Linked DNA regions of Homo sapiens: all the other regions are linked to region 7. Evidence: promoter capture Hi-C in 16 types of primary human blood cells and fetal thymus (Javierre and others, 2016). All regions are on one chromosome and are shown on one strand. The core of a region is centred on a gene start or on the middle of the fragment in contact, and the rest is flanking DNA. Distances in the headings are between cores, read along the strand shown.

Region 1 (2,983 bases), core at 73-2,572, 4.1 Mb before region 7:
CGTTGCAGATGCCTTACCTGAAAAGGAGAGATTTAGAGTAAGTCACCTAAAGTCCTTTCCTATTCTATGATTATATGCCCTAATGCAGTGTCTTTGTTTTGCAAAACATTTGATAGTGTTCCTGTAAATGAAGTAAACTTTTTTGAGATGTCTGTCACTAAAATATTCAGAATCAGTTCATGTATGCAGAGCAACTTTGTAAAAAATTATCCTAGTGCGACTGAAAATAAAAAATTTCATTTGCTTAGTCTGAGCTTGTACTTTAATTCTTAATTCATTGGGTAGAGTGGACACTCTTCATTATTGTTGCAAACATCCTGATGGATATGATGGTTTTTTATCAAGTGTTAAAGGTTTTAACCGTTATTAATCAAAATAGACGCTTGCTTACTGAACCTTGTGAAAGCTATATGATGTATGTACGTAACAGCCAAAATGTGAGCCAAAATGTTGGCTGTATATAATGGAGACAATCTGTCCTTGTATATTGTTTGTGGTTATGAAAACGTCACCCATCCTTGAGAAGAAATTGATTTACAGCCTTGTTTTTCAGTTTATGTGTAAGTATGTGTGTATTGGCCCTGAATGAGGAATTCATCTTCTGTGAGTGGACGGAAAGGTTTCAGAAACACTGATATAAAGGTCTGGAAAGTAGCTGTGAACTTTGAAAAGTCAGGAATTAGCTTTGCTTTTACATTTTACTAGATTTCAGAATCGGTAACAGGTTTATCTTGTTTTTTGTTTTTGCAGAGAGCATTTAGAAACACATGTAATCAGTATAGGGTTGATACCCAGACTCTCTTAATAACTATTACAAATCAGTAAAAAAAAAAAATGGCAGTACTGTTTATAGGCATTTCACGTGAGGAAACCTGAAAGGTCAATAAATGATACTTAATCTTACAAATCAGGAAAAAGTAAGCCAGTGAGGTACCACTTTATGTTCATCAATTTGGCAAAATAATATGACAATATGGATAATTGTTGCAGAGAAACAGGAACTCTTATACCACTTGGTGGGAATGTAAAAATATGTAACTATTTTGTAGATCAACTTAGTTGATGAAGTTGGAGGTATATATTAAATATATCCTTTGACCTAGCAGTTTTCTTTCTAGGAATATATTCTAGAAATAAGTATTGTTCTCAAGAATTGTTTATTGCAGCTTCATAATAACAAAATTGAAAACAAGTGAGACCCTGCCTGTGCAACATAGTGAAACCTTTTCTTTACAAAAAATAAGAAAACAAAAAAACCATTCCATTAGTTTGAGAATGGACAAATAAATTGTGATATTAATAAAATGTAATACTATCGAAAAGTTCTCACGAATGGACTAGAGCTGCATGAAACAACGTGACTGAATTGAAAAACAAACAAAATCTTGAGCTAAGAAAACAAGGTACAGACGAATAATGCTATGGGGGTAAAGTCTAAAAACATGCAAAACAGTACTTCTTTTGTTTATAGATACCTATATTAAAATATGCATAGTAGTGATTAACACCATATTCCAAGATAGTGGTTGTCATAGTGTGTCCAGAATTGGTGGGTTCTTGGTCTCGCTGACTTCAAGAATGAAGCTGTGGACCCTCGCGGTGTTATAGTTCTTAAAGATGGTGTGTCCGGAGTTTGTTCATTCTGATGTTCAGACATGTCTGGAGTTTCTTTCTTCTGATGGGTTTGTGGTCTCGCTGGCTTCAGGAGTGAAGCTGCAGACCTTCACTGTGAGTGTTACAGCTCTTAAAGGCAGTGCGTCTGGAGTTGTTCCTTCCATCCGGAGTTGTTGGTCCCTCTCGGTGGATTCGTGGTCTCGCTGGCTTCAGGAGTGAAGCTGCAGACCTTCGCGGTGAGTGTTACAGCTCATAAAGGCGGCAGGGACCCAAAGAGTGAGCAGCAGCAAGATTTATTGTGAAGAGTGAAAGAACAAATCTTCAACAGCAGGGAAGTGGACGCAAGCGGGTTGTTGCTGCTGGTTTGGGTGGCCTGCTTTTATTCTCTTATCTGGCCCCAGCCACGTCCTGCTGATTGGTCCATTTTACAGAGAGCTGATTGGTCCGTTTTGACAGAGTGCTGATTGGTGCGTTTTATGATCCTTTAGCGAGACACACAGCACTGATTGTTGCATTTACAAACTTTTAGCTAGACACAGAGTGCTGATTGGTGTGTTTACAAACCTCTAGCTAGGCACAGAGCACTGATTGGTGCGTTTACAAACCTTGAGCTAGACACAGAGTGGTGATTGGTGCGTTTACAATCCTTTAGCTAGACAGAAAAGTTTTCCAAGTCCCCACCTGACCCAGAAGCCCAGCTGGCTTCACCTCTCAATGGCACTCGCCGCGGGACTTTGCGGCACCTAGCTTGGGCACTCTAGCAGCCCAGAGGGAGCTCGTCCCCCATCAAGCCCAGCAGGCACCCACCCGGAACCGCGCGTAGCCCAGGCTCCTGCCGGCGCCTCTCTCTCTACACCTCCCTGAGAGCAGATGGAGCCGGCTCCGGCCTCTGCCAGCCGCAGAGAGGGGCTCCCACAGTGCAGCAGCGGGCTGAAGGGCTCCTTGAGCACGGCCAGAGCAGACGCCGAGGCCGAGGAGGCGCCGAGAGCGAGCAAGGGCTGCTAGGACGTTGTCACCTCTCAATAGGAGAAAGCTATCTAATATTTAATGTATTTAAGAAAATGGTGCAAATGTGGTAAAATTGTAAGATGTGCTTTTAGCAAGGTTTGTGATGTTTCCATATGTTTAAGTGTTTCATAAGTGGAAAACGTTAAAGCATATAAAAAGATGCTTTAGGAGGAGGGTGGTAGTGATGATAGTGTTGATAGTAACGGTGATGCTGATGAACATACCGCTGCCGCTTTAATCCTCATATTAGCCTGGGCTACTCTGCCAAGGGTTTCCTTTTCTTGACAGATGACTGCTTTTGCAGGGTGTAGCCTTTGTGTCCTTCCCCTTTCCTGCAGTTTTGCTCATCAACTTCAGGATT
Region 2 (3,190 bases), core at 1-2,500, 4.2 Mb before region 7:
TCCCCTATGACCTTTCCCCCAAACTGACACTTTCTCTAAAATGTCCATTCCCGTAGCTAAAACACAGGTAACATTTCCTTGAAATTCAATACAACAAAAGTTCATTAACCAAAACTGAAGGAAATACTGAAATGAGATTGCACCTGTGGGATGATGGTTTTAATCTACATATAAATTTCAATTGTTTTAAAACCCAAATTGATTAACGGTACTACAGTTCCCAAGGAAGGCTTCAGGTAAGATGCTTATCATTCGGGTTTCTGCGTGGGACTAACAGGTTACTAGCAGCTCATGGGCAGCAATGACCCTAGGATGACGCCACGCGTGAGACGGCAAAGGGTGAGGGGTGAGGAGCGAGTCCGGCAGGTCCACTGGAGACTCCGAGCCCAAACCCCGCTCCCCTGAGCCGACCCGACTCGCCTCCTAGGTCTGGGGCGGCAACTAACAGCGCGCCCGGAGCACGTCCACAGGTTCAACCCGAAAAGCACAAGGGTCGGCCGTCCAGCGACCTCTCTTACCAGGGGGTCATAGAGCACCACGGAGCAGGACGTGCCAAAGGCCAGAAGTCCTCTGGGCCCAGAGCTCCAGTTCAGGACTCCCCGCACCCGGTTTGGGCAGCAAAACACGTGAGAAGTCTCCAGCACGGGTGCCACCATGTCGCCAACTGGTCAGCCGCACAAACAAGAGACGCGCACTTCCGCCCTCGGAGCGGAACTACTAGGGTGGTTTCTCCTGAGGCATCACCCAGTCCACGTTTCGCAGCCAGCCGAGGGCCAGACGGAGGCAGCCCCGCCCCCCTGAGACTCTCCGTTCCCACCGCAGGCTGGAACCCCTGTGCAAGGCCGCCGCTTTGCTAGCTCTGCTCTTGGACCGTGGCCCCGCTCCGCGAACGAGCCAGGCCTTTGTCTCAAGAGCGAAATCCGACCCGAGTGGCTCGGGACCCTCCCGAAGGACCCGGGGCTCATGTGCCTGGGGCAGCGTCAGAAACATCTCGCTGCCCCTTACGACCCGGCTCCCAGCAGCAGCCAGGGCTGGCCCCGGGGGCGCTGGCTAGCGAGTAGGGCCTCGAGGAAATGACCCCCAACTGCTTACAATGCGCTAGGGCCGCGCCACGCCCCCGCGGCGTCGGCGAACACACGGAAAAGCGGATCCGTCTGCGGAGCCGGGTTCCGGGGTCGCACTGCGCATGCCCTGCAGTCCTGGGCGAAGGGGGCGGTGGTTCCCCGCGGCGCTGCGCGCGGCGGTAATTAGTGATTGTCTTCCAGCTTCGCGAAGGCTAGGGGCGCGGCTGCCGGGTGGCTGCGCGGCGCTGCCCCCGGACCGAGGGGCAGCCAACCCAATGAAACCACCGCGTGTTCGCGCCTGGTAGAGATTTCTCGAAGACACCAGTGGGCCCGTTCCGAGCCCTCTGGACCGCCCGTGTGGAACCAAACCTGCGCGCGTGGCCGGGCCGTGGGACAACGAGGCCGCGGAGACGTGAGTCTTTCAGGTCCGGGAGCAGGGCGGCTGGGAGGGGAGCTCCTCAGGCCAGACAGGCGTGGCGGGGTAGGGGTGGTTCTGCGGAGAACCGGATCCTGCGGACCGGGCAGGGGGGCTACAGAAAGAGGATGCTGGGGGGAGCCCGCCGCAGGCGCCCACTCACCCTAGAGAGCCGGACTTCTTAAGGTGCTCAGATGGGCTTCGGGGTGCAACGGAGGATTTTTTGAGGAAAAGATCCGTACTTTTCATCCCATATTCGAAGAAGGGACTGACGTGTTTAGAAATAAAAAGCTTTTAGAAGAGAGCTTTGTGCCCTCTTTTCCGTTTTCTGTACTCGCCTTTTTCTCTAAGGCCCTTCCCTTCTGCTTTCCTTTTTCCTCCAGCACACACCAACTTGCAGGAAAGGAGATCCTTCAACGGGTCCACGACCGCGCTCAGCATCCTCCCTGGAGAAAGGCTCGGAGCTGTCCCCTGTGCTAGTCCCCTCCCACCCCGCTCCTCGCCTCTCTCCTGGGAATGATTTCTAAATGTTTATCTTTTACCTAGTAAAAGAATTCCCGAAACTTCAAGCCCCAAAGATTCCTCTTTCAGGAGCCTCGTTCTACGCCGTACCTCCATTTCCCACTGTTCCCTGTATGATACCTCGCACTTGTGCAACACATGAGTTTAACGAGTACTTGTAATATACATTCCTTCATGTGTTTTCCTCCTTCGCCTTGCAAAATAGGTTTTACCGGTATTTTAGATAAGGTAATGAATGCGAGAGCCCTGTCCAAAGAACAGCTGACCGTGGTAGAGCTGGATAGCCCCATGCTCTTGCTTAGTTGTAAACTTGACGTCTGCGTCTTTTGCTGGAGATGTGAGTTTGACCACCATCACCTCCACCGTTGGTGCTGGACATCCTGCTGGATCTGAATTAACTGAATTCTGGCTCTGCTTAACTGAATTCTGCTTTTCAAGCTCCAACTCAATTGCTTCCTCCTCTTTGGGGCACAGGCCTTTGGTTCCAAACACTACTGTGGATGATTAACAGCCTGTGATTAAATGTTGACTGGTTTGTAGTAACACAAGGATGCTACAGTGAGTTTTTCATGAAGTTCAGTTTACTTTAAGAATTCTATGTATGGACATAATGTGTCTGATTCATTGTCAAGTCGGAAAAAAGATTCAATGTGTATTTAAAGTATACACTTATTTGAGGCTGGGCGTAGTGGTCACGCCTGTAATCCCAGCACTTTGGGAATTGGAGGTGGAGGATCTCTTGAGGCCAGGAGTTCAAGACCAACCCGGACAACATAGTGAGACCTCGTCTCTAGAAAAAAAAAAAAAAAACTTTAAAAAAAAAATTAAGTATACATGTATTTGAGTATGCATAGAAAATATCCTGAGGGATACACTGGCAAAATTGAGCACCTTTGAGGATTGTGATTGGGGAAAGGGGTCTTAAATGGGCTTGTATGTAAGGAGAGTGTATTAGTTTAAAATTTTTTAAATATGTGAATTCTGAGATTATTATTTCTATTTTTTGGTGTTTGAAGGTTATTTTATGAAATGATGGTGATGATCAAGGTAGCTAGATTTCATTTCGTTCTTTTTTTTTTTTGAGACAGGGTTTCACAATGTTGCCCAGGCTGGTCACAAACTCCTGGCCTCAGGTGATCTGCCTGCCTCAGCCTCCCAAAGTGCTGGGATTATAGGCATGAGCCACCAC
Region 3 (3,251 bases), core at 484-2,983, 3.4 Mb before region 7:
AAGACTGCACCATTGCCCTACAGCCTGGGTGACAGAGCAAGACCCTGTCTCAAAAACAAAACAAACAATATAATCACAGGAAAAGGGTTTTGTAAAATTTTGCAACATTTTTAACTTCCTCAAGGTTAGGTTTCAGATTTATTATTTTTGTTTTCCAACATTAATTAGATGTAAAAACTCTTAAAACAAAAATGCCTTCAGCTAGCCTTTACAAATCAGATAAGAGGGAAAGGTTGGGAAGAGCAGCCAAGTTGCTTAGGGGCCGTATCCAAGTAGCAGAGTGAAAAGGCTGTACTTCTGAAGCTTCCTGCAATGGAGAGAAGTGTTAGCAGGGGTTGTGAGAAGAGCTCTGGTCGGAATGAAAAGCAGTGGTATACCATCAGCTGCTCGCTCACTTGCTCTCTCATGCACGAATCCAGCGGAGCCTGACGGCACTTTTCAGAGGGCATTTTCTCCAATGAGGCAAAAAGTCAAAGCCTGAGGATCTTGAAATGCTTATGTTAGGCTGGATCTACACTTTTGACCAGTCCTTAAACAACAGGGCTCCTTTGTGTGGTGTCTGATGCCAATCATGTGACCTAGCTAAAGGCAGCAATGTAACCATCCCACAATTCATTTATTTATTCAACAAATATTTATTGAGTTCTCTATTTACCAGGCAGTCAGCTTCCAGGATCTAGGATGGGATACTGTGGTGAGCAAGACAGACAAGGTCCCTGCCCTTAAGGGACTTAAAGACAAAACAAAACAAAAAATAAAACAAGTAAATAAATGAGATCACTTCCATTAATAACAGTGCCATGAAGGGTCATGCGCCATGAAAGGCAGGTGGTGAGGCTGAGGATCTTGGGCCACAATGAGCCGAGGAGCTGAGGTGACTGGGGGCGCCAGGGTCTGGGGGTGCGGGCAGGCAACAGACCACAGGGGACTTACAGGCCATTATAAGGAGTTTTTATGTCATAAATTATTATGACATAAATTGGAGGGCTTTAAATAGGGGAGTGAAGTGGTCTGATTTGTAATTTTAAATGATCGCGTCAGCAGTTGTTTTATGGTATAAAATGCCCAGCTTTAAGATGACCATGCATTCTACAAATTCACCGTGACATCACTGCCAAAACTCTTAACCTGTCTTATCTAGTTTTCCTGACAGATAAATAGGTCGGAATAAAGCTCCATGACATAACTAGTGGGAGCCAAAGATTTGAATCACGTCTTGGTTTCAAATCTTGCTACCCACAAATGAGTTGTGAGCTCTTGTCAGGTTATTTACTGTATTTGTGCCTCAACTATCTCAGCTGTGAAATGGGGATAATGAAAGTTCCTACATCATTTATTTGTGGAAAAAAAAATGACATGTAAAGCACGACGAGAGCGCCTGGCACAATGTAGTAAGCTTTCACAAACACTCACTTTCATTCCTTCTTGCAGGGGATTACTGAGAGGATCCACAAGATAATGCACGTGAAAGGGCTTGCGAAATTGTAAGGACTATCTTAATGGTAGAGTCCTCTTTATGTTTTCTTTTAAACGGTCCAGAGGACGCTGGGCTGTTCGAGGAGAGGCGCGAGGCCAAGCGCAGCCTCAATGCGGTCATTGTCGTGGGGCCGCCCCTCCCCCGCCCGGGGCGCTTCTCCATGGCAACGTGGGCTTTACCTCTCCCCGCCTCCTCAGGCCCGCAGACCGGAAGCAGCCCGCGCCGGGGGCTTCTGGGAAAAGGCTTGTGAACGGCGTTTCTGCGTCTGCCGTGGACAGCGAAGCTGCTGCGGTTCCTGAGCCGGAGGTTTGCGCCGGTGTGCGGGGAACGTTATGAGAGGGAGGGGGGACACCGGGCTAGGGTCTGCGGACCTCTTAGCAGGAGCCGGCGGGGAAGCCTGTCCGGGACCTTCCTCAGCTTCCCGGGAGGCGCGGGGAACAGGCCGCGGTCTCCGCGCCTAGCAGTTGTGGGGCGGGGAGGGGTAGGCGGCAGGCCTGCTTGGGTCTTCGGCATTTGCAGAGAGCTCTCTAACCCCCTGTGTCCTCCGAGACCCTCACCTTCCCCCTCCCCCACCGGCCGGTTTTGTTCTATTTCGAGGCCCTGGCGTCTCGCGGAGGGTTCTGGGAGTCGTGATGGGAGGGGGTGGTAGTGGGACGAGACTTGCGCGGGGCTTCTGGGATTTGTAGTCTCACCGGCCGCAGGCGGAAGTGCCGTGGTTCCGACGCTGTTGTCACAGGGTGGCCTTTGGTCATCTGAAATCCGCGGTCCTGAGTGCTGGGAAGAGGGGCTAGAGGACGTCGGGCCGGGGCCGGGGCCGGGGCCGGGATACACAGCAGGTCTATGCAGCAGTAAGGTGGGCGATCCACCTGGGACGAGGTACCCTGCCCAAACATTGTCGGGACCGTGGGCCTTCCCTCCATTTCCCACAAGCGGTATGCTCTACAGCATAAAAGGAAGAGAAAATTATGTAGAAATACTTGCACCGTTGATAAGCAGGGTCTTGGAATAGGAACGAATGAATGTTGGCTAGACCTTATGTATAAGGCCACCACACTCCAGGGTATTTAATTAAACCAGTATGTATTACTTGTCTGATAAGGCCTTTTCTGATTCTAGTCTTCATCTTGCTTGGGTTACAATAAGTTTTTTTAAGTTGTTATTGTTCAGATTTTGGGCCCTGAATAAATAAATAGGCTGAATGGCTCATTGCTAGTATGTGTCGTAAACAACAGCACGGGCATGATCGTGCAAATAATAAAGGTCCAGAAGCAGTATACAGTTTCACTGAAGGTAGAAGCTGGGGAAACTGTGAGTCCTCCAGTGTAAGGACAAGACACTGGACCACTGCAGGAAGTCAAGGTGCTTATGCGAGTGCCTTTTCTTAATAGAAGTTTCTGTGATTAATGCCTATCATTATAAATATAAATGTACGTATGGTGTGGTGGAAGACTGAATATTTACGTATTATGTGCAAGATAATTTTTCAAAATTATGTGATGTTTTTCACATATGATCTTTTCAATATTATGTGATCTGCTACTCAGCAAGTGAACATTTTTTCACATATAAGTCCAAGGAGTTCTTAAACACCTTAAAAATATTTTTTAAATGGTAAAGAAAATTTTTTTAAGCACATAATAATAAAGCGAACCTTCCTTTTGAGTTGACTTGTGTGTGTCAGGAAACACCAATCCTGAATTGGAAATAATGCGTTCCAGGGTCAGGCACATTTAGAAAGCACTGAAGTAGTCTGGTTCTTACTTGGATTCTTTTG
Region 4 (2,882 bases), core at 42-2,541, 3.3 Mb before region 7:
GATGAGTAACTTTAGTAATATATTGAAAGGGAGTAGATTTGGGGCTATCACTAAATAAAACAATAATGTGATGATAAACTAAAAATCATTAACCTCAATTAGTGTCTCCCATTATGAAGAATTCCTACCACTAATGTTAGAAAAAACTATTTTAGAAGCCTAAGAATGTGAATGCAACATTAACATCAATCACATAGTGAGAAAATTTCCTTTCCAATTCTTTCAATTCTGATTGTATCAAGGAGAAAAGTCTATCTTTAACATGTATGTATTAATAAAACTTGTAGAACTCTCTTTTAAATAAAATACAGGCTTCAGAATCAGACTTCCAAGAGTAAAAATATTTAGGCAGAATTTAGTAATACTGATTTTAAACATTTATTTTTACTTACTTTCTATCTAAAGCAAGTAATGTTGATTTTCATTTAAGGCAGTAATAACGTTTTTTTAAAAGTTCACATTAAACATGAGTTGATGTAAATATTGGATATTTGTCATTTGATCGCATTTGGTGTTTACCGAATTACTTCAACAAACACTGAGGCACTTACTGAGCATTAAGATTTTTGCTTATGAATAAACGAGTCTACAGAGGAATTGACCAAGAACCAAGACGTATCTGTAAAATGCTTACCATGTGTTCAAAAACATGATAGGTATCACATACACAAAAGCAGCAAAGAGATCCGTATCAGTTCTGAAAAAGCTTAGAATATCCCAAGACTAAAAATGTTCAAAAGCAAAATATGGTAACAAATAGGTATTAAATGTTGTGACACAGACCAAACTTGACCTGCTTTTAGGATGGCGAGATATCGATAGGAATGTATGCCCTTAGTTTGTCAGGACAGATGAGTAAAATTCATTCCTCACACTACGGTTAACGTTAAGAGATGAATTAAAATATTTAGCCTACAAATTTAAGGTTTAACCAGTCCGGCCGCACTAACTAACTAACTAACTAGCCCTTCTATTTTTATATCCTTGGTTAAACCGCAGCATTTACGAAGTCACGGGGTCAGCGGAACTGCGTTTTCCTTTGGAAAGCAGGAGTTTGAGTGCTGGCCTCCTCTGAGTTCCCCAGTCGCTTGGAGACGCCGCGCGGGCCAAAGGGCCGCGACCTGGGGATGGGCAGGCCGAGGAGCGGAGCTCCTCCACTGTCCGGCGCGCGCTCCCAACCCCACCTCCCTCTTCCTAGGGGCCCACGTCCCTCACCGCGAAGCCCAGGAGCGGCCAGGAAATGAGCCACCCACCCCGAGCTGCAAGCCACAAAGACCGGAAGTGCGCGTACGCAGTGTTCCGCTCTCGCGCCCTTCGGGTCCTCCGCCGCCCCGCCCCTTGCTCTGAGGTAGCCAATCAGAGCCGCGGGCTCTACAGTTTCCACCGCCTTCTCCCGGTAGCCGCTAGCCCGGCGGAATCTCCAAGGCCAGGGGAGGGTGCGCTAGGAGTCAGGGGTCCTTGTGAGCGGCGGCACCTGGAGGGTCCCGCATCTCGCCTGGGCCGTTCCCACCCTGGCTTTCTCCTGGCACCACCCATCATTGTTGGTCTCAAGTAATTCCCGAATCTCACTCCCAGTTTTCCATTAAAATATTCAGATTTTCGGCCGGGCGCGGTGGCCGAGGCGGGCGGATCACGAGGTCAGGAGATAGAGACCATCCTGGCTAACACGGTGAAACCCCGTCTCTACTAAAAATACAAAAATTTAGCTGGGCATGTTGGCGGGCGCCTGTAGTTCCAGCTACTCGGGAGGCTGAGGCAGGAGAATGGCGTGAACCCGGGAGGCGGAGCTTGCAGTGAACTGAGATGTGCTGCACTCCAGCCTGGGCGACAGAGCGAGACTCTGTCTCAAAAAAAAAAAAAAAAAAAAAACCTCAGATTTTCCTGTGATTCCAGTTCTTTTCCGACAAAAGTAAATGTAAGGATGAATAGGCTGAACAAAAACTAACAGTCACTTATATTGCTTTTGCCTATGAGTATCACTGGAGCCTTACAACAGTTCTGTGCTGTGGCTATATAATCCCAAATTTACAGCCGTAGACATCGCCCAAAGTCAGGCAACTTGTGACCAGGGACGTCCACGTCCCCATAGTTCAAGGAGACTGGTATCGTAGACTCCTGGAGCCTATCTTAGGGTCTTCCCGTTCTTCAGTGGAAGCTTGCTGGTATTGTCTCACTGTTTAAATTTTTCTTTGGCTATTTAGTCGGTGAAAAATGATGCCTCATGTTTCAACTTTGTGAGCTTAAGATAGTCCCCCTTCATGTTTACTGACCATTTATGGTTCTTCAGAGATGGCTTTTCCCATTTAAAAAATTAAGGGAGTAAGATTTTTCTTTTTTATTTGTGAGAATTTTTTGCTTATTAAGGATAGCAACTCGTTTGTTGCAAATCGTTTCCCATTTATTTGTATTTATTTTTAAAACGTTACATTTTACATGTTTAAATGTTACATATTTTTAAAATGTTATATTAAAAAAGTACACAGGATAATAACAAAGCGATACATACATACATAGAAACAAATTCTCCTTTGTGAGCCAAGACTTAAAACACATATTTGAGAAAAATGTTCGTTAGCATTCAAAGCTATTAGTGACTCACTAAATAATTTTATCATTGTGAAATGACTACAGCAATTTTACAAAGCAAAAAACCAAATAATATTAATTTGTTTATAAATTATCAATTGCTTCATAATGAACCACTTCAAGACTTAGTGACTAAAAACAGCAGATGTTTTATTGCTCACAGTTCTGTTGCCAGGAATTCAGGAAGGGCTTAGCGGAGATGGCTAGTCTGCTTTATGATGTGTCAGCTATCTTCACTTAACTGGGGTGGAAGGTCCAAGATGGCTTCACTCAAATTGCTGAAGTCTTGGTGTTGC
Region 5 (3,289 bases), core at 432-2,931, 4.0 Mb before region 7:
GTAGAGATGGGATTTCACCGTGTTGCACAGGCTGGTCTTGAACTCCTGAGCCGCCCACCTCAGCCTCCCAAAGTGCTGGGATTACAGGTGTGAGCCACCATGCCCGGCCGTGAATGGTTCAGTTTTGTTGGCACATAGGATGATTTAAGGCAAAGAAAGACAGGCAGACAGACTGGTGCCAGATAGGGCTGGAAAGCCATGCTAGAGCATTTATCCATATGCTACACAGTGATGCTTCTAATCAGAGCTATGCTCCAGAAAGATGATCACACTAAAAGAGTTTGATCCTAGAAGCAGGGAGACCCATGAGGAAAATCACTGCAGTAGTCCTGACAAATGGTGCATAAGGACCTGAACCAGAATATAGCAGCACTATGGAGAAAAAGGAGCAAAAAGATGAAAACAGGGAAGTAGGATATATAGAAATCGGTGACAAGGACCAAGGGAATAGGGATTTTTGAATGTACCTGTCATTTTAGGTCAAAATGTCCAGAAAGGTGTGTTCATTCACAGAATAAGGAACTCAGGAGGATGGACAGGTTTGAGTGGTTAGCTGTGGGGCAATGATGAACTAAGTTTTGAACATGTAGGGGACTGAAGTGGTTATATTTAGCAGGCAGCTGGAAATAGGCACAGGAGATGTTGGAAGTAGAGTAACATACCTAGAAGTCAAATGCATTGAAATGAGCATTGAAGATATGGGAGTATGTGACATTAGAAAAGGGTATGGAGGAAAAATGGCCAAGTCCTGAAATGCATGGCATATTTAGGGAGTATATATTAAACACAGGAAATTAGAAGAAAACACTTAACACTGGCAATTCAAAAACTTCATGGATTAAGATACCTGAAAACCGATGCTGGGCTCTTGCCTTTCGAGCCAGACATGTCATGATTTGGGTTTGCAGTCCTTCTCTCTGGTGTCTTCAGGCTGAGTTTACTTGTAGGAGTGGCAGGATTGCTCTTCAATGTTGACACAAAGCTTCTACTTTTACCATGATGTTTCACTGTTCTGTTGCATGTTTTACAAGTGATCAACTACCATAAAAATAAGAAATATCAGTCCCGTCATTTATCTTATAATTTAACCCCATAAACCACAGGTTCATTGAATTCTTAAATGTCAGGGACTACACCAGATACTATAGGGGTAAGTAAAATAGAGGCTGTCCTTGGGGAACTTGCAATCTAGTAGCGAGAATCAGACAAGACATTTTTTTTTTTTTGAGACGGAGTCTTGCTCTGTCCCCAGGCTGGAGTGCAGTGGCGTGATCTCAGCTCACTGCAACCTCTGCCTCCTGGGTTCAAGTGATCCTCCTGCCTCAGCCTCCCATGTAGCTGAGACCAGGCGCCTTCCACTGTGCCTGGCTAATTCTGTATTTTTAGTAGGCAGGGTTTCGCCATGTTGGCCAGCCTGGTCTTGAACTCCTGACCTCAGGCGATCCACCCGCCTCGGCCTCCCAAAATGCTGGGATTACAGGCTTGAGTCACTGTGCCCAGCCGACAAATTTTAAATGAGAAAATGTTCAATAAAAATGAATGGCTAAACATTTGTATTTAATTTAAAATAGGTTTTCAAAGATAATGAACTCTACTTTTTAAATATAAAACCATGTTTGGTGGGAATTTGGGAAGAGATGGGAGATAATACTCTTTAACATCTGGAGGAATGTTCTTTGTAACAGCAGTAAGCATTTAATATTTTTTTGCAGATGAACTTCAAGCCTCTTCCCAAAAACAACATGGCACAGTATCACTGGAAATTTAAGTAGCCCCTTCAAATCCTTAGCAATTTTGTAAACATAGGTCTAAAGTAACTTATACAACCAAATGAGTTGTTATACTCTCACACCTCTCCACTCCCATCATTAGCTCTAGAGGTTGTCTTTCTTTTCAAGATTCATTTCTCAAGAAATGGTCCATTTTCTAGCTAATTTCCTTTCTTCTACATATCTAATTGACTGTGCACAGGACTCAGCCCATGCCTCGGCAAATTAATACAAACTAGTTTAAGTGAGAAGTAGTTTGATGTTCATGAGCAGATGAAAATGCCAATGGAAGATCTGCATCTATCAAAGGTCTATGTTGCTTTACACTTTTTGGAAGGAGGCTGTATACAGGTTAAAATAAATCAGCCGGGCGTGGTGGTGGGCACCTGTAGTCCCAGCTACTCAGGAGGCTGAGGCAGGAGAATGGCGTGAACCCAGGAGGTGGGGCTTGCAGTGAACCGAGATCACGCCACTACACTCCAGCCTGGGCGACAGAGGGAGACTCCGTCTCAAAAAAAAAAAAAAAAAAAAAAAAAAAAATCAGAAAAACAAATACCTCTAGCACCTTTCTAGCTGACTTCTGATTAAAATACATTAGAATGTAAGCTTCATGAGGGCAAAACACTGCAAGATAGTGAGGCAGCATTTGCTGTCTTCCCATTTAAGAACATTTTCCAAATATGTGGCAGTAATGATTTTTGAAAAATACAATTCTCCAAGAACTAAGAAACCGAATTCCATACTCACTTCAATATTCTATCTCTTCTTTCTTTCCCTTTAACCATTCAATTTTATGACAAAGCAAAATGCACCTACCTGACCAACACTGGTAAACTCCTAAATATGACAATTTTCAATCCAAGTAATTGCTAATTATAGTCTTAGGCCAGACATAAGCTGTCATAATGTCCAGTGCCCGGCACAGTGATAGACAATAAGCAGGCACTTGAACAGTTGATAAATGTTAACATAAAATATGCAGGGATATAAAGTGTATTTGCTACTGGCCTCCATATAGTAAACCGTACGTAATCTGATTTTGGTTGTTTTATTCCATCTTATATCCCCAATATTAAATGTTGCTTGGCATATGATAGACCCTCAATAAAATGTTGAAAGAACAAAAGATGCATTCACCTTTGTTGGGCATACCTGTAAATCCACTCTGACATGGAGTGGGAGGACAGCTGAAGAAGTGACATGATACCTACATACATAACATAGTACTATCTGAAGCAAAGGAGCATTAACTGAAAAAATAATGTAGTGGTAACTGCAATTTAGGTGGAGCCATAACGGTCAGTTCAAGAAATCCGCACATTTGTGAAAAATAATGCTCAACAATGGGATCTCAAAACAATTGAGAGCTCACCATGTTTGGTTTAGGTAATCATGAAAAATAAAAGTAAGCTGTCCTTATAATGAAACACTAATCATTAGAGAAGTGTTTATGTATATATTTTGATAATCCAAATATACTACTATAAATCTCTGAGTTATACTGAGGCTGATTCTTAAAC
Region 6 (3,106 bases), core at 115-2,614, 3.1 Mb before region 7:
CTCACCATTGTGTTATAGTATTAACACATATACTATATATACACTATATATAATAGTATATATAGTATAGTGTACGTATAGTATTAATACATATACTATAAACACATATACACATATAGTATATGTGTTAATACTATAAATACTATGTGTATATAGTATACATACACACATATATAATACATATATGTTACTACTATATATGTGTGAATATAGTATATGTAGTATATGTGTTAATACTATATGTAACACATATATAATTATACTTTCTAAAAGTATATATGTATGTGTATATATACTTTCTATAGTGTACATATGTATAAATACACACACACACACATATATAGTATATGTGTTAATACTATATAAATATATGATATAGTTTGGATGTTGTCCCCTCTAAATCTTGTGTTGAATTAAAATCCCCAGTGTTGGAGGTGGGGCCTGGTAGGAGGTGTTTGGGTCATGGGGTCGGGTCCCTCATAGCTCGATGCTGTCCTCATGACACTGAGTGACTTCTCACATGAGCTGGTTGCCTAAAAGTGTGTGGCACCTCCCCCTCCACTCCCTCTCTCTTGCTTCTGCTCTGGCCATGAGACATGCCTGCTCCCGCTTCGCCTTCCACCATGAGTGAAAGCTCCCTGAGGCCTCCCCAGAAGCTGAGCAGATGCTGGTGCCAGCTTCCTATACAGCCTGCAGAACTGTAAGCCAATTAAACCTCTTGCCATGTTGTCTTTCTGTTCCAAAGTCATTGCTAAAATCAGATTCTTCCAGCATGGTCATTTTACCTGCTGGAACAAAGAGAGGCCTAGAAATCACAGAAAGTTTGAGTTTTTGCCATATTTTCTTAACTAGATAAGCATTAGAGGACACCATCACTCAAAGCTGTCAACTTGATCATTTCATGTATTTATCACAAACTTCTGCTCCCTTAGAAAAGACAGTAATTCTTTAAGAAACTCTGTCCTGGTTCAAGTGAGTAAAATCTTAATTCACTTGGGGAGATTTGACACTGAAAACACAGTGTTTTTTTTTTTTTTTTAAGTAACCTACTAAGAAATTATTTATTGGTGGCCTATAAAACTCTGTTCAGTCTTTACCTTGCTAATGATTTATTTTCATTAAAGTAAATGATCATCTTTGGGGAGGCATTTTATAAAAACATATTTAGGAGAAATTTCTTTGATTTATGCTATAAGGTAAATGTTGCATAATTTCTTGCCTATGTGAATTGTAGGTTTCCACTTTGAGAGAATTCTCTCAATCTAATAATAAAGACCAAGGGCCAGAAACACTAAGATAAACAATCGGAATTTTAAAATGAGCTAAGAAACAAGGTTTGTATGATACCAATGGGATGTGTGTGGAGTGTTAGAAAGAAAAAGGGCTGTTGGAATAGTGCTTCAGATATTGGCTAAGTTTGACATACTCAATGTAGTATTACAGAGGCAGCTAGCTGAAAGATGGCCTGAAGTCAGGAAGAATAAAACTGTTCTTAGATATATATTCTAACTTAATTCACTGTAGAAAAAAGATACTTCTCACAGGAGAGAAGAAAATCAATTTGTCCTTTAAAGTGAAATTGACTAAAATAAGAAGTAAACACACACACACTATTTAGGGTAAACTCCATCCACTCTGGAGTCTGCCACCAAGGTGATAACCTTCTAACTGTCAGAGGAATTGGCCCCAAAGTCACAGGGAGTGTCCTGAGCAGTTTCATCAGCCACATCGGAACTTTTTACATCATTAAATGCCAAGGGAAGATGCTTCATAATGAACCAGAAACCTGGTTCATTGTTTGGGAAGATCAGAATAGTGGCAGCTCTCCACACTTGCCACTCCTAAAAGTTAGACTGATAGCTATGAAGTGGGCATCTGCAAATATAAAAGCCACTGTCTGGGCTAAGTACCAGTCTCATTATGGAACAAAGCTGCATTCATTGCTTCTACTCAAGGAAAGACATCCTGAGCCAGAGAACATCTACCTAGTCCTGATCTCTGCACATTAGAGGGCTCAAGCTCTCGCATGGCATTAAGTATTTTCTAGTGATTCTAGACCCACACAGTGGTGCATTGGGATCCCGTTTTCCTTTTAGCTCTCATTTCAAAACTGAAGATCCACTGCAGTAGGCATCTGTTTTCATTACACTATCTTCAGTCAATAAACTTTCAGTAGCTTCTTATTTCCAAGTTCCAACTACCCCGCCTGCTTTTCAATGCTTTTATTTTCTACCACTGCCCAACACACCTGGCCAGGCCAGTGAAAATTCTGCCTGATCCTAAAGCCTACATTCTTTTCAGCAAAATTTCTGGTTTCTCTCAGTGTCTTTTAGCTTCCTACAGCACACTGGACTTCAGAGAAACTTTTTTTCCCCCTTTGGGTCACTGGGGGTTCAGGAAATGCAAACCACTTTCGCTATCAGACTAAGCAAAATACCAACACTGTAAGTCTTTTACAAAATGAGCGGTTTTCCATCGGACTTTACTAGGACTCAAGATCCTTCAAGGGGCATCTAGCACAGACCTTGGCCAGAGCAGACTTTCAAATATTTGTAAAATTAATTAATTCTCTAAACCAAACAGAATATTTAAATTAGTCCCAAATTTCCCCTTCCAATTAATCTAGAATTATTCACTGCAGCTTCAAGAGGTCCCTGTAAATAAAGAAAAGATGCTGCATAAGGAAATCAACCTTCTGAATTCCAGAGGACAATCTCACAGCACTGCTCTAAGATAATGCACTGTCAACAGATACCAGCTACAGAGCAGGAGTGAGCCTCTCCCCAAAGCAAGAGCACCCGGAAGACCATTCCATTAACAGAAGCTCTGAAAATCCGTAAAAGAAGTTCCAGAGTTGGGCATGTACTAAAGCATCAAGTAATCTTCTGATTTTTACAAACACTAAGAAAAATAGTAAGGACAAAAATCTTTATTTTTGGAAAACCTCCTTTGACAGTATTAAACCTAGATGATACTAACAAATACATAATAAAGACATGAACGTAGACTTTTGCAATCTATAACTGCTGTTTTGGGGAATGTGATGTGAAGCCTATGTTCTGATAAAAGTGAGCCATGTTACAATAGCCTCTATTGAATGGAACAC
Region 7 (3,255 bases), core at 564-3,063:
TATAAAGGGTAAGGAAGTGAATCAGAAGCATTGAAAAGGGATTGTGTGTAACATGTTATCTCTTGCAAAAGGAAATTAAATTTTGGGACCCCAAACTGATTTAGCCAAAGGGAAAAGTCACGCTGGGACTGGTCACGCAAATCTGCCTCCCCCTTTTGGTTCCTAAATAAGATTGCTGCAAGATGAAAAGCTACATCTCTCCCCCGTATTTTGCCCACAAGGAAATTCTTAGTGTGCTGTTAAAACTTCATGGCAATGCAAATTGATAGCTTATCTTTACAGGTGGCCACCCCAGCCCGCCAGACACAAATGCCTATCTGATTGTTCCCCTACCCCATTTTGTCTGTTATCTTATGAAAAATGCAGACTCCCACATTCTTCCTCTGCCCATTTTATGTCATCTTATGTAAAAAATGCAGATTCACTGAGCCAGAGAAAGGCAAGAATTACTATTTTCTCCTACCGCCCCCTTACATGAAAACGGTGTGCTTCTCAATATCCCGCCCTTTCCCCTTTAAATTTGGAGCACTCAAAATCATCTTCGAAGAAAGGCATAGACCTGTTTCCTGGGCTCGTACTTAACTTCGGCAAATAAATCTCCTAAAGTGATGGACTCTCTTATAAATTAATCTGTAGCCAAGGCATGTCATCAATATGTCCTACTGTGCCTTCCTACCTCCCATTTATCAACTTACATGAGAAGCACACATCTTACTTGTCATAAATTATTACCTTAGTGAAAACCTGAGGGTGTCAAGAAGTCGAAAAATTTGAGACATTGACGTTGGGGAAGACACCTTTAATTAGAGCACCATAAAATCATGATAGAATGATACATTTTTCCTTGCCTTATATTTTTGGCATGCAAAACAGAAGGAGCTCAAACAATTGAGTGACACATTAGTAAAATTCCTTTCATTCATTTCTACTTACAAGGCACACACCATTGACCTCACCCCGTCCCCCCCTTTAAAACAATATTTGACCCGCGCCCCCCCCCCTTTAAAGCAATCTTTGAAAAGTTAGGAATGAAAGCCGGTTCAGGACAGTACACAGTACACAAATACTGGCTTCCCCTACCTCCACCACAAGCAAGTAAACATCCTAGCACAGTGTAAAAAGGAAGAGGCTGAGGACGAACCACGCGGACATTTGCAGGCACACCCCTTCCCTGCGACCAACAAAAATGCAGTAGCGCAATTACACTTGAAGGAATTGCAGCACTCACAAAAGCACACATTCTGTTCAATGGTTGAGTCCACATAAAGTGACAGTCCGTTTCTAAAAGCATGGCTGTATTTAAAGGACACATGGTCTGTTCAGGTCCGCTTCAGCGAAACCCCAAGCACTTCCGAGAGATCCACTCCCTCTCTCCGAGCAGGTGCCACTAGCTGCTCCGCCGGCGAGCGTAGGAAGCAGCGCGACCAACCAAATCGGTTGCCCACAACAGCCAGGGACGTCAAAAAGGCCAAACTGCGTGGGAAGCGAGCGTGCGCCTCCATCACCACGACAGCACCCGTCTCGAGGCTCCACCTGCCGCTAGTAGGTGGCTCTCAGCTCTGCTCTGCTAAGGGCGAGCTTGAGAACCCGGCCTACAGTTGTGCACCTCCCCCCGCCCCCGCCCCCGCCCCCGCCCCCGCCCACCGCACTTGTAGCCCCGCCCCGCCCAGGGAGCTTCCGTCACAACACTTCCGGCTCCAGCCTCCCAACCGGCCTCCGTCGTTTTTCACTTCCCTCTCCTCAGCTCTCTTCCCTTGCCCCTACCGTCTCCTTTAACACAGTCACGTGAGGGACGCGCGCGGGGGCAGCTGGGAGTAGTACTGCCGGTTGGTCAGGGTTCGGCCTCAACATGGCGGTTCCGGCCGGGCAGTGACCAAGGTTTTGCCGTCCGAAGGACTAAGTGGTGACTGTCGGCGTCTCCACCTATCGGGGTGGAATGCGAGCACGCGGGGACGAGCGCTGAGAAGCGGCGGTGACGGGAAGGGGGGGGTCAGTGGATTGTGCCCCAGAAACCGAAGCGGCGGCGTCTGTTCCTTCTTGTTTCTAGGCTCCAGTGCGTTCGGGGCCCCGCCCGGCCGGGCCAGGCCGGCGGGCGGCGGCGGTAGCTGCTGCAGCCGCAGGATAACCTCGCAGGGTGGGCCGGAGGGCGGGCGCCGCCGCTGCCTGTGCTGCGGCGATGGCCCAGTGTGTACAATCAGTGCAGGAGCTAATCCCGGACTCCTTCGTCCCCTGTGTCGCTGCGCTGTGCAGCGACGAAGCCGAGCGGCTCACTCGTCTCAATCACCTCAGCTTCGCGGAGCTGCTTAAGCCCTTCTCCCGCCTCACTTCCGAGGGTATGTGGTATCCTCCCTTTTCCAGTGGGCTCCCGCAAAGCCGTGGTCGGGAGAAGGAAGTTGCGGGCGGGCAGGGAAGAGAAGGGCAGTGTTTACGTCCTGGAGCCGGTACCGTGGCGTCTGGGGCTGTGGCCCCGCGGTGCTCCGGGGGCGGCTGGAGGAGGGACCGTGAGGTTGTCAAGACAGCGCAGTCCTAAGCTCCAGTTTCTCTGGGCACTTCCTTTCTTCCTCGGACAACCTAGGTCGTTAAGTAATTGGTGCAAAGATAAACGTGAGTCTTCGAGAACGGCATTGAGACTGTTCTCCACGGCCATAGCGAAGGAATTAGGCACTTGCAAAGCAGCTAAGGTAGGAAAATGCTGCCTCTTAGACCGACAGGGTCTGAGTAAGGAAGACCTGTCATCCTCCCTTGGATGTTAAACTGGACTTTGAAAGTAGTTGTGGATGTTATTACATTCTTGTAGCGTTGAGGGTCATCTCTGTCTGAACTACCGTGTAGCTGTTTTACTAATATATTCTTAGCTATACGGTATTTTGCTTAACCTCTCAAGAAAATTAAAAGTATTATAAGAAGAATAAAACTTGAAGCAGCTTTTTGCCCTAAGGAAGAGGAAGCAAGCCCAAGTTGTGGTTAATTTAACCTGGATATTTGGAGTTATCTATAGTTATAGGGATGGAAATGTCTTCTCTTGTTAATGAATGTCTTGTTAAGAAGCTACCCGTTTTCTCCAGTTTTGGATTTTTTTATTAGGAGAAAATAATGTGGTAAAGCTTCAAGCATGTTTTAGCCAATATCTTGCAAACAACAAAGTCCAAGTAAAGTTTTTTTTGTTAAGGTCGGTAAGAACTGAAGGGTTTCATAATAAGCCTGTGTCAGGCAAACGACTGTGATGTTTGTTAGCTTAATATGACTTATCCACAA

Evidence for each region. Contacts are between HindIII fragments. The CHiCAGO score rates a contact against its expected background, and 5 or more counts as called.
Region 1: a contact is called between a fragment that was not itself captured here and the fragment with the promoter of TRAPPC8 in region 7, in 1 of 17 cell types (total CD4 T cells). The highest score is 5.8, in total CD4 T cells.
Region 2: the fragment with the promoter of SLC39A6 here is called in contact with the fragment with the promoter of TRAPPC8 in region 7 in 2 of 17 cell types (non-activated CD4 T cells and total B cells); the score reaches 8.3 in non-activated CD4 T cells.
Region 3: the fragment with the promoter of ZNF24 here is called in contact with the fragment with the promoter of TRAPPC8 in region 7 in 1 of 17 cell types (non-activated CD4 T cells); the score reaches 5.9 in non-activated CD4 T cells.
Region 4: a contact is called between the fragment with the promoter of ZNF397 here and the fragment with the promoter of TRAPPC8 in region 7, in 2 of 17 cell types (naive CD8 T cells and non-activated CD4 T cells). The highest score is 5.9, in naive CD8 T cells.
Region 5: a contact is called between a fragment that was not itself captured here and the fragment with the promoter of TRAPPC8 in region 7, in 1 of 17 cell types (total B cells). The highest score is 5.1, in total B cells.
Region 6: a fragment that was not itself captured here is called in contact with the fragment with the promoter of TRAPPC8 in region 7 in 1 of 17 cell types (naive CD8 T cells); the score reaches 5.2 in naive CD8 T cells.

The regions. Positions count from the first base shown.
Region 1 is chr18:36,063,728-36,066,710 of GRCh38, reverse strand. All of the region lies in intron 1 of RPRD1A (regulation of nuclear pre-mRNA domain containing 1A), which reads left to right. Among named protein-coding and RNA genes, the nearest start is that of RPRD1A, 2.3 kb to the left of the region's middle. The HindIII fragment of the contact is 5,831 bases long and covers 1-2,983 here.
Region 2 is chr18:36,127,400-36,130,589 of GRCh38, reverse strand. It overlaps SLC39A6 (solute carrier family 39 member 6), which reads left to right and starts at 1,250. Exons shown (of 10, transcript NM_012319.4): 1 at 1,250-1,476. ELP2 (elongator acetyltransferase complex subunit 2) reads right to left here and starts at 691. Exons shown (of 22, transcript NM_018255.4): 1 at 519-691. The coding sequence starts at 656. RefSeq lists enhancers at 440-649, 441-946, 810-999, 1,030-1,324, 947-1,452. The HindIII fragment of the contact is 4,684 bases long and covers 1-1,772 here.
Region 3 is chr18:35,342,902-35,346,152 of GRCh38, reverse strand. It overlaps ZNF24 (zinc finger protein 24), which reads left to right and starts at 1,733. Exons shown (of 4, transcript NM_006965.4): 1 at 1,733-1,793. It overlaps LOC124904283 (a long non-coding RNA gene), which reads right to left and starts at 2,099. Exons shown (of 2, transcript XR_007066337.1): 1 at 1,414-2,099. RefSeq lists a silencer at 1,506-1,675 and an enhancer at 2,356-2,415. The HindIII fragment of the contact is 2,541 bases long and covers 1,399-3,251 here.
Region 4 is chr18:35,239,443-35,242,324 of GRCh38, reverse strand. It overlaps ZNF397 (zinc finger protein 397), which reads right to left and starts at 1,291. Exons shown (of 4, transcript NM_001135178.3): 1 at 1,216-1,291. RefSeq lists a silencer at 1,110-1,239 and enhancers at 1,029-1,554, 1,500-1,609. The HindIII fragment of the contact is 1,449 bases long and covers 709-2,157 here.
Region 5 is chr18:35,975,159-35,978,447 of GRCh38, reverse strand. It overlaps RMP24 (ribonuclease MRP subunit p24), which reads right to left. Exons shown (of 5, transcript NM_031446.5): 4 at 848-1,038. Among named protein-coding and RNA genes, the nearest start is that of RMP24, 4.1 kb to the right of the region's middle. The HindIII fragment of the contact is 1,393 bases long and covers 985-2,377 here.
Region 6 is chr18:35,045,650-35,048,755 of GRCh38, reverse strand. All of the region lies in intron 1 of MAPRE2 (microtubule associated protein RP/EB family member 2), which reads right to left. Among named protein-coding and RNA genes, the nearest start is that of MAPRE2, 5.8 kb to the right of the region's middle. The HindIII fragment of the contact is 4,794 bases long and covers 1-3,106 here.
Region 7 is chr18:31,941,686-31,944,940 of GRCh38, reverse strand. It overlaps TRAPPC8 (trafficking protein particle complex subunit 8), which reads left to right and starts at 1,813. Exons shown (of 29, transcript NM_014939.5): 1 at 1,813-2,333. The coding sequence starts at 2,177. RefSeq lists enhancers at 1,829-2,038, 2,140-2,918 and a silencer at 2,089-2,208. The HindIII fragment of the contact is 12,839 bases long and covers 1-3,106 here.